Regions from separate parts of the Homo sapiens genome. Here all the other regions are linked to region 1. The links are contacts of gene promoters, found by promoter capture Hi-C in blood cells and fetal thymus (Javierre and others, 2016). All regions are on one chromosome and are shown on one strand. Each heading gives the region's core, a stretch centred on a gene start or on the middle of the fragment in contact. The rest is flanking DNA. Distances are from core to core; before and after follow the strand shown. Region 1 holds the start of OPTC (opticin). Region 2 overlaps ZBED6 (zinc finger BED-type containing 6). Region 3 overlaps ZBED6 (zinc finger BED-type containing 6).

Region 1 (3,959 bases), core at 941-3,440:
AATATTCATGAGAACAAGAGTGTGTGACCTGTGAGCTTGGGAAAGCAAGAGGAGAAGTTGGGAGAGGGTCTAGGATGCGAGCCTGAGTCTGGATGTGGCTCCTGCAGGGAGTGGGGGGAGCAGGTGTGTATGCATTGGGGAGGAACGATGGTGGGGGTGTGGCAACCAAGCAGGGATGGCAGGAGCGTATGTCTCTGGGAAAGCAGGGAGGGAGAGTGGGAGCAGGCGGCAGGGAGAGTGAATGAACACTCGCATTTGCATTTCTCCCAGGAATAAATGTGTGGGGTGGGAGCGGGGAGATTGCCTAGGCTGGCTGTGGGGGTGGAGGGCCTCTGGCTGCAAAGCCCAGGCTGTGGAGAGAAGATGGAGGCATACAGCCCGCCAAATGTGCCATCTGCCTACTGGATGCCCTCCAGGATCCAGGGCTATCTTTCCCTCCACCCAGCAGAGCCTCTGATGGTGTCTTTTCCCAGGTGGGGGGCTGCCAGGGGTACAAGAACATGCTCTTCTCTGGTGACCAGGCTCTTGGGCTGAGGGAAGCCCCCTCTTGCACCAGCTGGAGCCCAGGAACACAGCAAGCCAAATGCTGCCCTCGAGGGCCAGGCTATTAGATCTGCCTCTTCACCTGGTGTGCCAGGGCAGAGATGAGTTCTGCCAAGCCATCTGCTCTGAGGGCCTGGAAACACACGGATTCAGGACTCCTGGGGAAGAAGGTGGAAATGGGGAGGGTCATATGAACTAAAGAAAACTCTCTGACCAGGGAGTCAAAAAATCTAGGCATTGGCCCTGGCTCTGTGTGACCTAGGGCAAGTCACGTCACCTCTTTGGGCCTCACTCTCCTCATCTATACCACAAGGACTTGGACTAGATCTTTAGGGGGCCTCACAGCTGGAATTCAGTATCTGGTTGGTGGAAAGGAGTAGGGAACAAGGAGAGTCACTGAGAAACCTGGGTGGGCGCCAGGGCACAGGCTGGCAGAAGCTGGGGAAGACTCCTTAGCCACCCCACCTCTGCCTTCAGCAAGGACTTGCTCGGCAGCCTGCTCGAGGCACCAAGGAAAGGGGAGTGTTTCCAGATGAATGCCGTTGGCCCTCTGTATCTGTGGGTTCCACATCCGTGGATTCAACCAACCACAGATTGAAAATATTCAGAAAAAAAAAAAATTCACAACGTTCCAAAAAGGAAAACTTGAATTTGCTGTGTGCCAGTACTATGTGGAATCCATGTGAATGGAGTGAGGTGTAAGCATTGTGTTTGGTGTTATAGGTAATCTAGAGATGATTTGAAGTACACAGGAGGATGTGCGTAGGTTATGTGCAAATTCACCATTTTATATAAAAGACCTCAGCATATGTGGATTTGGTATCCACTGGACGTGCAGAACCAATCCCCCATGGTTACTGAGGGACGACTGTACATCTCTGAGGGTGCGGGAGAGGATACTTCCCAGGCCCCCGAGACCCTACACAATGTCTACTGGTGTTTATGATCCTTTCTAGGGCCCACCTCCCAATTTCCATTTGGTTTCCTCCTAGCAGATTTAGAGAATTTCCCGTATCCTCATGATCATCATCTGTGAACTTGAAGTTGGCTTTCAAATCCGATCTCATCCCCCATACACCTTCTCTTTGAACTACCTAGGCCTGCAGCTCCTGTCTCTGGTGATTTTATTCAATTATGGTCTCTGTGCTGGCGCTCTAGGTGAGGGTGAAGTGCCTCATTTCCACCTATTTTTATCTTTGGATTCTGGCTATGAAGCTGAAGCCTTGTCACTCTCTGGCTGGAGAAAGAAGCTGCAAAGACAAGCTCTATCTCTCCATATCCCCCGACTCCAGCCTTCTCTGAGGACTCAGAATCTGAGGGATGGGGCCCCTTCCTTGCAGGGGATGGCACTCCCTGTTCCTCAAAGATGTGGCCTTATCAGGAGAGTGGACAAGGAAAAGAAAGAAGGAGCTGACAGAGTAAGAGGAGAGAGAGCAGGAGCTGGAGGTGGGGGGTGAAGCGGAAGGTGGGGGGAGAATTCTCTTTTGTCAAATACAGGAATGGGGCAGGGGACCCCCTGAGGAAAGAGGAGGGGAAACAGCTGGACATCAGAAGGAATGAGAAGTCTGATTGGTCGCAGGCCTGGCCAACTCCTTGCCCTCCCCCGGGCACCACTGTCTAACCCAAGCCCCAGTTCAGACAGCCTCCACCAGAGTCCCCACCTTTCTGGAAGCTGCAGGGCTCTCCATCCAGGATCCAGAAGCATTGAAGGGGTAAGGCTCAAGGTTGAGGCCTCTGGCCATCGGTGCGCAAATGAGGGCAAAGTGTTTGGCTGGGGCAGGGGATTGGGAAGGGAAAATGAAGAGAGTTTAGGCCTCTGGCCAAAGAAGTTGGACAAGACTTTTGGGTGGGCACTAAACTCTCTTAGAAAAATTTTTTTTGAGATTATGTAATTCGTTTGGGGTGAGGTATGGGAGGTAAGGTGAAGAAACACCTCTTGCTACTGCTAGAGGCTTGCCCCCTTGCCCAGCTAAAATTAAGAAAGGGTGGGGAGGTTAACTGGGCATGGTAACACACGCCTGTAGTCCCAGCTACTTGGGAGGCTGAGGCAGGAGGACTGCCTGAGCCCAGGAGGTTAAGGCTTCAGTGAGCTGAGATCATGCCATAACACTCCAGGCTGGGCAACAGAGTGACACCGTCTTAAAAATAGAAAATAAAATAAAAATTAAAAGATAAAAAAAATTTTAAAAGAAAGAAAGAGGGAGAGTCTACTAGAAACTTGTGCAGCTAGCTTTGGGGAGGGCTGTGTTAAGCCTACACTGGGTATGACTGTTGTATACACTTATGCCTGGATACAAAACCACACCACATGCATTTCCTGACCCGTCTATACATATACGAACTACATGAACATTTGTACTCACATGCATATCACATACATACGCAGGCATCTGTGTGCACACACACACAAATATACACAGGTATCTAAGGAAATTTCCAGATGCGTACACACTCATGCAATCACACACAAAGAACTCTTTTATCTGTAATAATCTGTTTCTAAAAAGCTGCATTTAGAAGTATATTTCATAAACTAACATTCTTTTTTACATTGTATGTTTCATTGTAAGTCCATGTCTCCTAAAGAGACTAGGTGCTCCTAGGAAGGGCTGTGCCTCATTCATTCTGTACCCACAGAGACAAGTCCTGTGCCTGGAACTCAATAGACACCCATAAATGTTTGTTGAGCAAATGCATGAATGGATGATCTTTATAAAAAACCACAAGAGTCAACTGGGCGCGGTGGCTCACACCTGTAATTCCAGCACTTTGGGAAGCCAGGGTGGGTGGATCACCTAAGGTCAGGAGTTCGACACCAGCCTGGCCAATATGGTGAAACCCCTTCTCTACTAAAAATACAAAAATTAGCCAGGCATGGTGGGTGCCTGTAATCCCAGCTACTCAGGAGGCTGAGGCAGGAGATTCGCTTGAACCCAGAAGGCGGAGGTTGCAGTGAGCCAAGATCGCACCACTGCACTCCAGCCCGGGAAACAAGAATGAAACTTCGTCTCAAAAAAACAAACAAACAAAAAGACCCCATAAGATTATTTGATGTTGACATTCTCTAAATCGAGCTTAGTGACTAGCAGTCATGTTCTGAGCATGGGGTTGTTTAAGAGAGGACATCTGTGTGCATGCACCAGTGTGTGCCTCGTTTGTAAACAAGGGGACTCTTGTGAATGTGTCTGTGTTGAGATGTGTCTGCACATGCCTCTGTGAGTGAATATCAGTGTTTGGGTGAGCGTGTAAAAACACTCAAGTGGGGCGGTGGAGGGAGGGGGCTGCTAGGAGATACCCCCCAAGACATAGTCCCAGCTGGTAGGGAATTTGTGCATGTGATGAGAGCACTGAGTCTGCAAGTGTGGGGGTGGGAAGTGGAGTAAATCTGCGAGCCATTCCCACAACACTCTGGAGAG
Region 2 (2,700 bases), core at 128-2,627, 300 kb after region 1:
TTTCCCAGCCAACCTTCCTCCCCTCCCCCACATCCGGTGTTCGCTAATCTCGAGGAGCCCGGAGCAGCCCCGAAAACCGACTGTTCCCCCGAATCCCGAAGAGAGAACTGACACTAGATTGCTTTCTTCGGGGCAACAGTTTCTCTAGTTGAGCGGACCCTCACTGCCTAAATCAATCAGACTGAGTGCCGGGCGCTGAATTTACCTACTCTCATTCCTCTCCAGGGTCCCGGTACTTTGGAGCTTGTCTCAAACTCCACATACAGAAAGCCACCGACCTTATTCCGGTATCCTACACCCATTCCCCACTCTCATTACACTCCCACCCCTGGCCCTCAGCGTCGGAGTCAAGAGCAACAGGGACACTTCCGTTCTCCTTGTAGGACTGGTGAAACCGTAATGAAGAACACCCCTAAACTCCCATAATCGGTGCGGATTCCTATGGGGAAGGCCTATATTGTTGACATCTTCCAGGCCTTGGTTCTGGACCTTGAGAAAGAGGCTGTGGAACTAGAGATAGCGATGCTTTTTAGGGTAAATGTATGTAGGTATTGGGGGAAGGGGAGGGATCAATCGAAAAATGGAAGTGGTTTAAAGTTCATATTTCACTTTTTGCTATCTCTATAGCGTACAACTTGTGAGTTACTTACAGGCTGTAAAAGCTTCTCAAGTCTAAAAATATCTGAAAACTAAACTTGAATTAACTCTTAATACAAACAGTACTTTGAAAATGCAGCATTTAACCTTGTTTTAAAATTTTTTTCTCAAAGCATTTTTTTCCAGCCACTCACATTTTAAAAGGTTGTATTACTTTTAGTTAGAACTGAAAGGGCTCAACTAGCATTTGCTGTGACCAGTATGCGGAGTCTGTGTTGGCTTTCCAGAATTGACTTTTTGGGTTGTATTGGCAAATCACAGTCCTAAATGATGAATGTTGAATGATGCACTATGTTTTTGTTTAAATGAGATTTCCTGAAAATAGTTAATTTCAGAATTAAGGGAAATTGATGTCGCTATCATGAGGCATCATAAAAATATGTATTTTACAAGGTGAAGGCATTTCAAGTAGATATAGTTCTTGATGAAGCAGGAAGAACATGGATCTGGGATTTGGAAGACCTGGCTTCTAGCTGCTACTAACCAACTCTGTGACTCTGGGAAAGGGGGACTCAGTTCTTACTTCTGTAACATGAGGACACTGGACTATTTGAATTCAGAACTTAGAAAATTGGAAGGGACCTTAAAGCCCTCTAAGAAAGAGTTCGGGAATGTTCTCCATTGCTGTCAGTTTTCCTCCAAAAATAACCTGGCTTGGAAGTTATTGGTCCAGTGGGAATTTGATTCCCCATAGAAACTGGAGAAAAGGTAATGCAAGTAGAGAGGAACAGCTGTATTTCTGCTTGAGTAATAAACCCACTAACAGATTCTGGTACGAATTGTGGAGACATAAAGAGAATGAGTGTATGTACTCTAAGTGTACCAGTTTCTTCACTCTCTCCTGGCAGAAGATGCAACACTTTTAGTGATTCTGGGATTCTGGGATGTGTTCCTATTAATTCTAATACAGATGAAGAAGATGTGGTAGAGGAAAAGATGGTAGCAGAAGGAGTGAATAAAGAGGCAAAACAGCCTGCTAAAAAGAAAAGAAAGAAGGGTTTGCGAATTAAGGGGAAAAGGCGTCGAAAAAAATTGATTCTTGCCAAAAAGTTTAGTAAGGATTTGGGATCTGGGAGGCCTGTTGCAGATGCCCCTGCTTTGTTAGCTTCCAATGACCCTGAGCAGGATGAAGAAAGTCTTTTTGAGAGCAATATAGAAAAACAGATCTATCTACCTAGTACTAGAGCCAAGACCTCCATTGTGTGGCACTTCTTTCATGTTGACCCCCAGTACACCTGGCGGGCCATTTGTAACCTCTGTGAGAAAAGCGTCAGCAGGGGTAAACCAGGTAGCCATCTTGGTACATCTACTCTTCAACGACATCTGCAAGCAAGGCATTCACCTCATTGGACCAGGGCCAACAAGTTTGGAGTTGCTAGTGGAGAGGAGGACTTTACCTTGGATGTGTCTTTATCTCCCTCTTCTGGAAGCAATGGAAGCTTTGAATATATTCCTACTGATCCATTAGATGATAATAGAATGGGCAAGAAGCATGATAAATCAGCATCTGATGCCCTAAGGGCAGAAAGAGGGAGATTTCTCATCAAAAGTAACATTGTCAAGCATGCTTTAATTCCTGGAACTAGAGCCAAGACATCTGCCGTTTGGAATTTTTTTTACACTGATCCTCAGCACATCTCAAGAGCTGTGTGTAATATATGTAAAAGAAGTGTGAGCCGGGGTAGGCCAGGGTCCCACTTAGGGACTTCAACACTTCAACGACACCTGCAAGCCACACATCCTATCCATTGGGCTGTTGCCAACAAAGACAGTGGTGCTGTTGCAAATGGATTAGATGAAGCTGAGACTGAGAGAAGTGATCTCTTGAGTGATACCTTGCATGGAGAAAAGTCTACAGGCAGCCAAGATTTAACAGCTGAGGACCTTAGTGACTCTGATTCAGATGAACCTATGTTAGAGGTTGAAAACAGATCTGAAAGTCCTATTCCCGTTGCAGAGCAAGGCACTCTGATGCGTGCGCAGGAGAGAGAAACAACATGTTGTGGAAATCCAGTCTCAAGTCACATAAGTCAGGCAATTATC
Region 3 (3,721 bases), core at 1,107-3,606, 340 kb after region 1:
TATCAAAATAATAATAATAATTAGTACTATGCTATTGCTTCTGTTTAGGCTGTATGTTTGGCTGTTTATTATTAATAGGTTTGGGTTTTTTTTTTTTTTTTTTGATATAATGGCCTTCCTTAAGACTGAGACCTGATTTTCAAGAGACTTTCTGGGTGGATTTACACTAATATCAGAACATACTTTGTACCCATTAGTAGTTACTGAATACAGAAAAATTGACTAAGGATAGAGAAATTCTGCTTTTGCCATTTCAGGAGAAGAACCCTTGGTTAGATTGAGTCTTACTGAGAGACTGGGGAAACGAAAATTTTCAGCAGGTAAGATAAGTTTTGTGTATATCTTTTCTTTTCTACTTGTTTGTGCATTAACATGATAGCTTCTCCAAACTCTTTTTATACAGATCTTTGTTATTGGTGCCCCTGTATTGGCTGAAAGCACTTATAAATTCCTCATGTTTTCATGAGTGCATTATACCTTTTATTGAAGATACAGAGATTTAAAGTGTTACAATTGAACTAGATTATGACCATGACCAGCGTTTTGGAAGGAACTAGATTTTAAAAATGGTAAAGAACACCTCTATTTCTCTGAACAAATTTAAATGTGAGTTTTTAGAGGCGAGAAAAATGATTGGTTAATATAATGTGTGTCTCTTAGAATACAGGAATCCCTAAGAAGAAAGAAGAAAGTATGTATATATAAAATTTGAGTCCTTGAGTCTATTGGTGCTTGCTTATTTATTTATTTATTTAGAGACAAGAGTCTTGTTTTGTTACCCAGGCTGGAGTGCAGTGGTGCAATCTCAGCTCACTGCAACCTCCACCTCCTGGACTCAAGTGATCCTCCTGCCCCAGCCTCTCAAGTAACTGGGACCATAGGCCTACACCACCATACCTGGCTAATTTTTGTATTTTTTATAGTGATAGGGTTTCACCATGTTGCCCAGGCTGGTCTCCAACTCCTGGGCTCAAGTGATCTGTCGGCCTTGGCCTCCCAAAGTACTGCAATTACAGGCATGAGATACCATGCTTGGCTGCTATTTTATTTTTGGGGGAGTACTTTACCATATTAGTAAATTGTTGTATAACTACCCTAACGTGTCTGACTCCAAAAAATTATTATTATCATTTGAAACGAGAGTCTTGCTCTGTCGCCCACGCTGGCGTGCACTGGCACAATCTCAGCTCACTGCAACCTCCACCTCCTGGGTTCAAGTGATTCTCCTGCCTCAGCCTCTCAAGTAGCTGGGATTACAGGCACTACCCCTGGCTAATTTTTGTATTTTTAGTAGAGATGGGGTTTCCACCATGTTGGCCAGGCTGGTCTCGAACTCCTGCCCTCAGGTGATCCACCCGCCTCTGCCTCCCAAAGTGCTGGGATTATAGGCATGAGCCACTGCTCTGGCCTTCAAAAAATTATTTTGAAAATTTTTTCTGACTTCAGAATTTTCTTCATACTGTTTTAAATGTCCTAAAAAGGAAACCTTATCTATCTCTATTTTGTGTTGTCTTTGATGCAGTTCTCACTACCCTATCTTCAGAACCGTTCTGAACTTAGTCACATTTCAAAGTTTCAGACAGTGAGAGATGGGAATGTATTGTTGAATCAGTTATGCACTTTACGCTCTAAGTAATAAAAAACTTTCAGCGATGAGATAATGCCCATGAATGAAATTAATATTTGCTGTGGCTTTGCTGTATATCAAAGAACATTATGTAAATTCTCATCGAATCCTTGGCAACCATGAGTAAACCATGCACAATGCTTGGCACTTGATATCAGTAAATATTTTCTGCACTGAGCTCAAACTCAGGAAGGGTTAAATAACTTGCCTAAGGTTATAGTCAGATGAATACATTACACGTTATACAGTCATTTACGAAAAAAGCTTAGAAGAGACAGAAATGAGGCAGTCTTTAGAAATCTCTTCTAGCTGTAAATCAAGAAACAATAACAGTTCTAGATTTTAAGAGCAGTATTTTATTTTTGTTTATTTATTTATTTACAATAGCGCAAATCCACTTTTACTGACTTTTCATTAGCTTAAACCCTTGTGGTGTACAGCGTCACTCAGATTCTGTGTCCAATAGCATTAGCAGGAAGATTGCTTTGGAATTTGGCATGAACCACACCACTGTTTCCATGGGCTTGAGTTACCTTTCCCCAGATGACTCTGGTTTTGTTTGGTTTGCCACCAGGAGTCACTGTGTTGTCCTTTGCTTTGTATACATAAGCACATCTCTTGCCCAAATAGAATTTTGTTTCATCTGGGGCATAAACACCTTCAATTTTAAGAAAAGCTATGTGCTCCCTTTTTTTCCGGAGACCCCACTTATAGCCAGCAAAAATGCCCTTGGACCACAGCCTTCCAGACATACTTCCTTTAAGAAGTCCTGTTCCCAGGAGGCCTCCACAGGATCCAAGATGGTGGGGAGAGCTAAGAGCAGTATTTTAATATCTCAGCATGTATTTAGAGTACAAACCAAACCAGGGTTCCAAATTAATAGGACTTTCAGCTTGGATAAAGCTGATCTAGAAATTTTAGGTAGAAAAAAATAATACTAAGCCAGGTATGGTGGTGCATGCCTGTCATCCCAGCTGCGTGGGCAGCTGAGGTTAGAGGATCCCTTGAGTCCAGGAGTTTGAGTCCAGTCTGGGCAACATAGCAAGACCCTGTCTCTAAAAATAATAATTAAAAGTTCTTAAAATATAGAAATGAGCTGTTTTAACATCAGCATACCTGTAAACTTTGTGATGGTTTTATATTTAAATTATAAATGAGGGGAGAGAAACAATCATACTCTGTGTAGGGTCTTTTGAAGCTTTGATACCTTGCAAACAATGTAACTTCAGTCAAGTAATCTAAAAAACCGTTTTTAAAAACTGGTGACTTTTAAACAACTTGTATTGAACAGTGTAATAAAACTAGAAGGCTGGGCGCGGTAGCTTACGCCTGTAATCCCAGCACTTTGAGAGGCTGAGGCAGGTGGATCACAAGGTCAGGAGTTCGAGACCGGCCTGATCAACATGGTGAAACTACTAAAAATACAAACATCTCTACTACAAAAAAGTCTACTAAAAATACAAAAATCAGCCAGGCATGGTGGCATGCGCCTGTAATTCCAGCTACTCGGGAGGCTGAGGTAGGAGAATCGCTTGAACCCGGGAGGTGGAGGTGGCAGTGAGCTGAGATCTTCCCACTGCACTCCAGCCTGGGCGAAAGAATGAGACTCCGTCTCAGAAAGCAGCTAGAATTAGGAAACTTGATTTAGGTCTTGGCTGTATCACTAACTAGTTGATGACTTGGGTAAGATACAGAATATTTCAGAACCTTAGATTTCTTTTCTAGAATTGGAGAGAGAGGGGTTATGTGGCTCTTAAAGTCTTCATACTAAAAAACTTAAAATTTAATAATTCTTAACCTGTCTTCCTCATCCTGTATGCATTTACTTAATTCAGCAGCTGACCAGTTAAGATTTTTGGGGGGGCCTGGCATAGTGCTGTAATCCTAGCATTTGGAGGCTGAAGTGGGCAGATCACCTGAGCTCAGGAGTTCAAGACCAGCCTGGGCAACATGGCAAACCCTTGTCTCTACTAAAAATACAAAAATTAACCAGGCATGGCATGTGCCTATAGTCCAGCTACTTGGGAGGCTGAGGTGGGAGGATCGCTTGAGCCTAGGAGGTGGAGGTTGCAGTGAGCTGAGATTGCACCACTG

Evidence for each region. The method cuts DNA at HindIII sites, captures the fragments that hold promoters and counts their contacts. A CHiCAGO score of 5 or more calls a contact.
Region 2: a fragment that was not itself captured here is called in contact with the fragment with the promoter of OPTC in region 1 in 3 of 17 cell types (M1 macrophages, endothelial precursors and M0 macrophages); the score reaches 6.5 in M1 macrophages.
Region 3: a contact is called between a fragment that was not itself captured here and the fragment with the promoter of OPTC in region 1, in 1 of 17 cell types (endothelial precursors). The highest score is 6.0, in endothelial precursors.

Annotation. Positions count from the first base shown.
Region 1 is chr1:203,491,963-203,495,921 of GRCh38, forward strand. It overlaps OPTC (opticin), which reads left to right and starts at 2,191. Exons shown (of 8, transcript NM_014359.4): 1 at 2,191-2,255. RefSeq lists an enhancer at 1-296 and a silencer at 1,684-1,912. The HindIII fragment of the contact is 16,129 bases long and covers 1-3,959 here.
Region 2 is chr1:203,796,068-203,798,767 of GRCh38, forward strand. ZBED6 (zinc finger BED-type containing 6) reads left to right here. Exons shown (of 17, transcript NM_001395895.1): 1 at 1-2,700. The coding sequence starts at 1,456. All of the region lies in intron 1 of ZC3H11A (zinc finger CCCH-type containing 11A), which reads left to right. Among named protein-coding and RNA genes, the nearest start is that of ZC3H11A, 1.8 kb to the left of the region's middle. The HindIII fragment of the contact is 1,434 bases long and covers 661-2,094 here.
Region 3 is chr1:203,833,534-203,837,254 of GRCh38, forward strand. It overlaps ZBED6 (zinc finger BED-type containing 6), which reads left to right. Exons shown (of 17, transcript NM_001395895.1): 9 at 258-320. It overlaps ZC3H11A (zinc finger CCCH-type containing 11A), which reads left to right. Exons shown (of 18, transcript NM_001376342.1): 10 at 258-320. It also overlaps the pseudogene RPL35AP5. Among named protein-coding and RNA genes, the nearest start is that of SNRPE, 26 kb to the right of the region's middle. The HindIII fragment of the contact is 934 bases long and covers 1,890-2,823 here.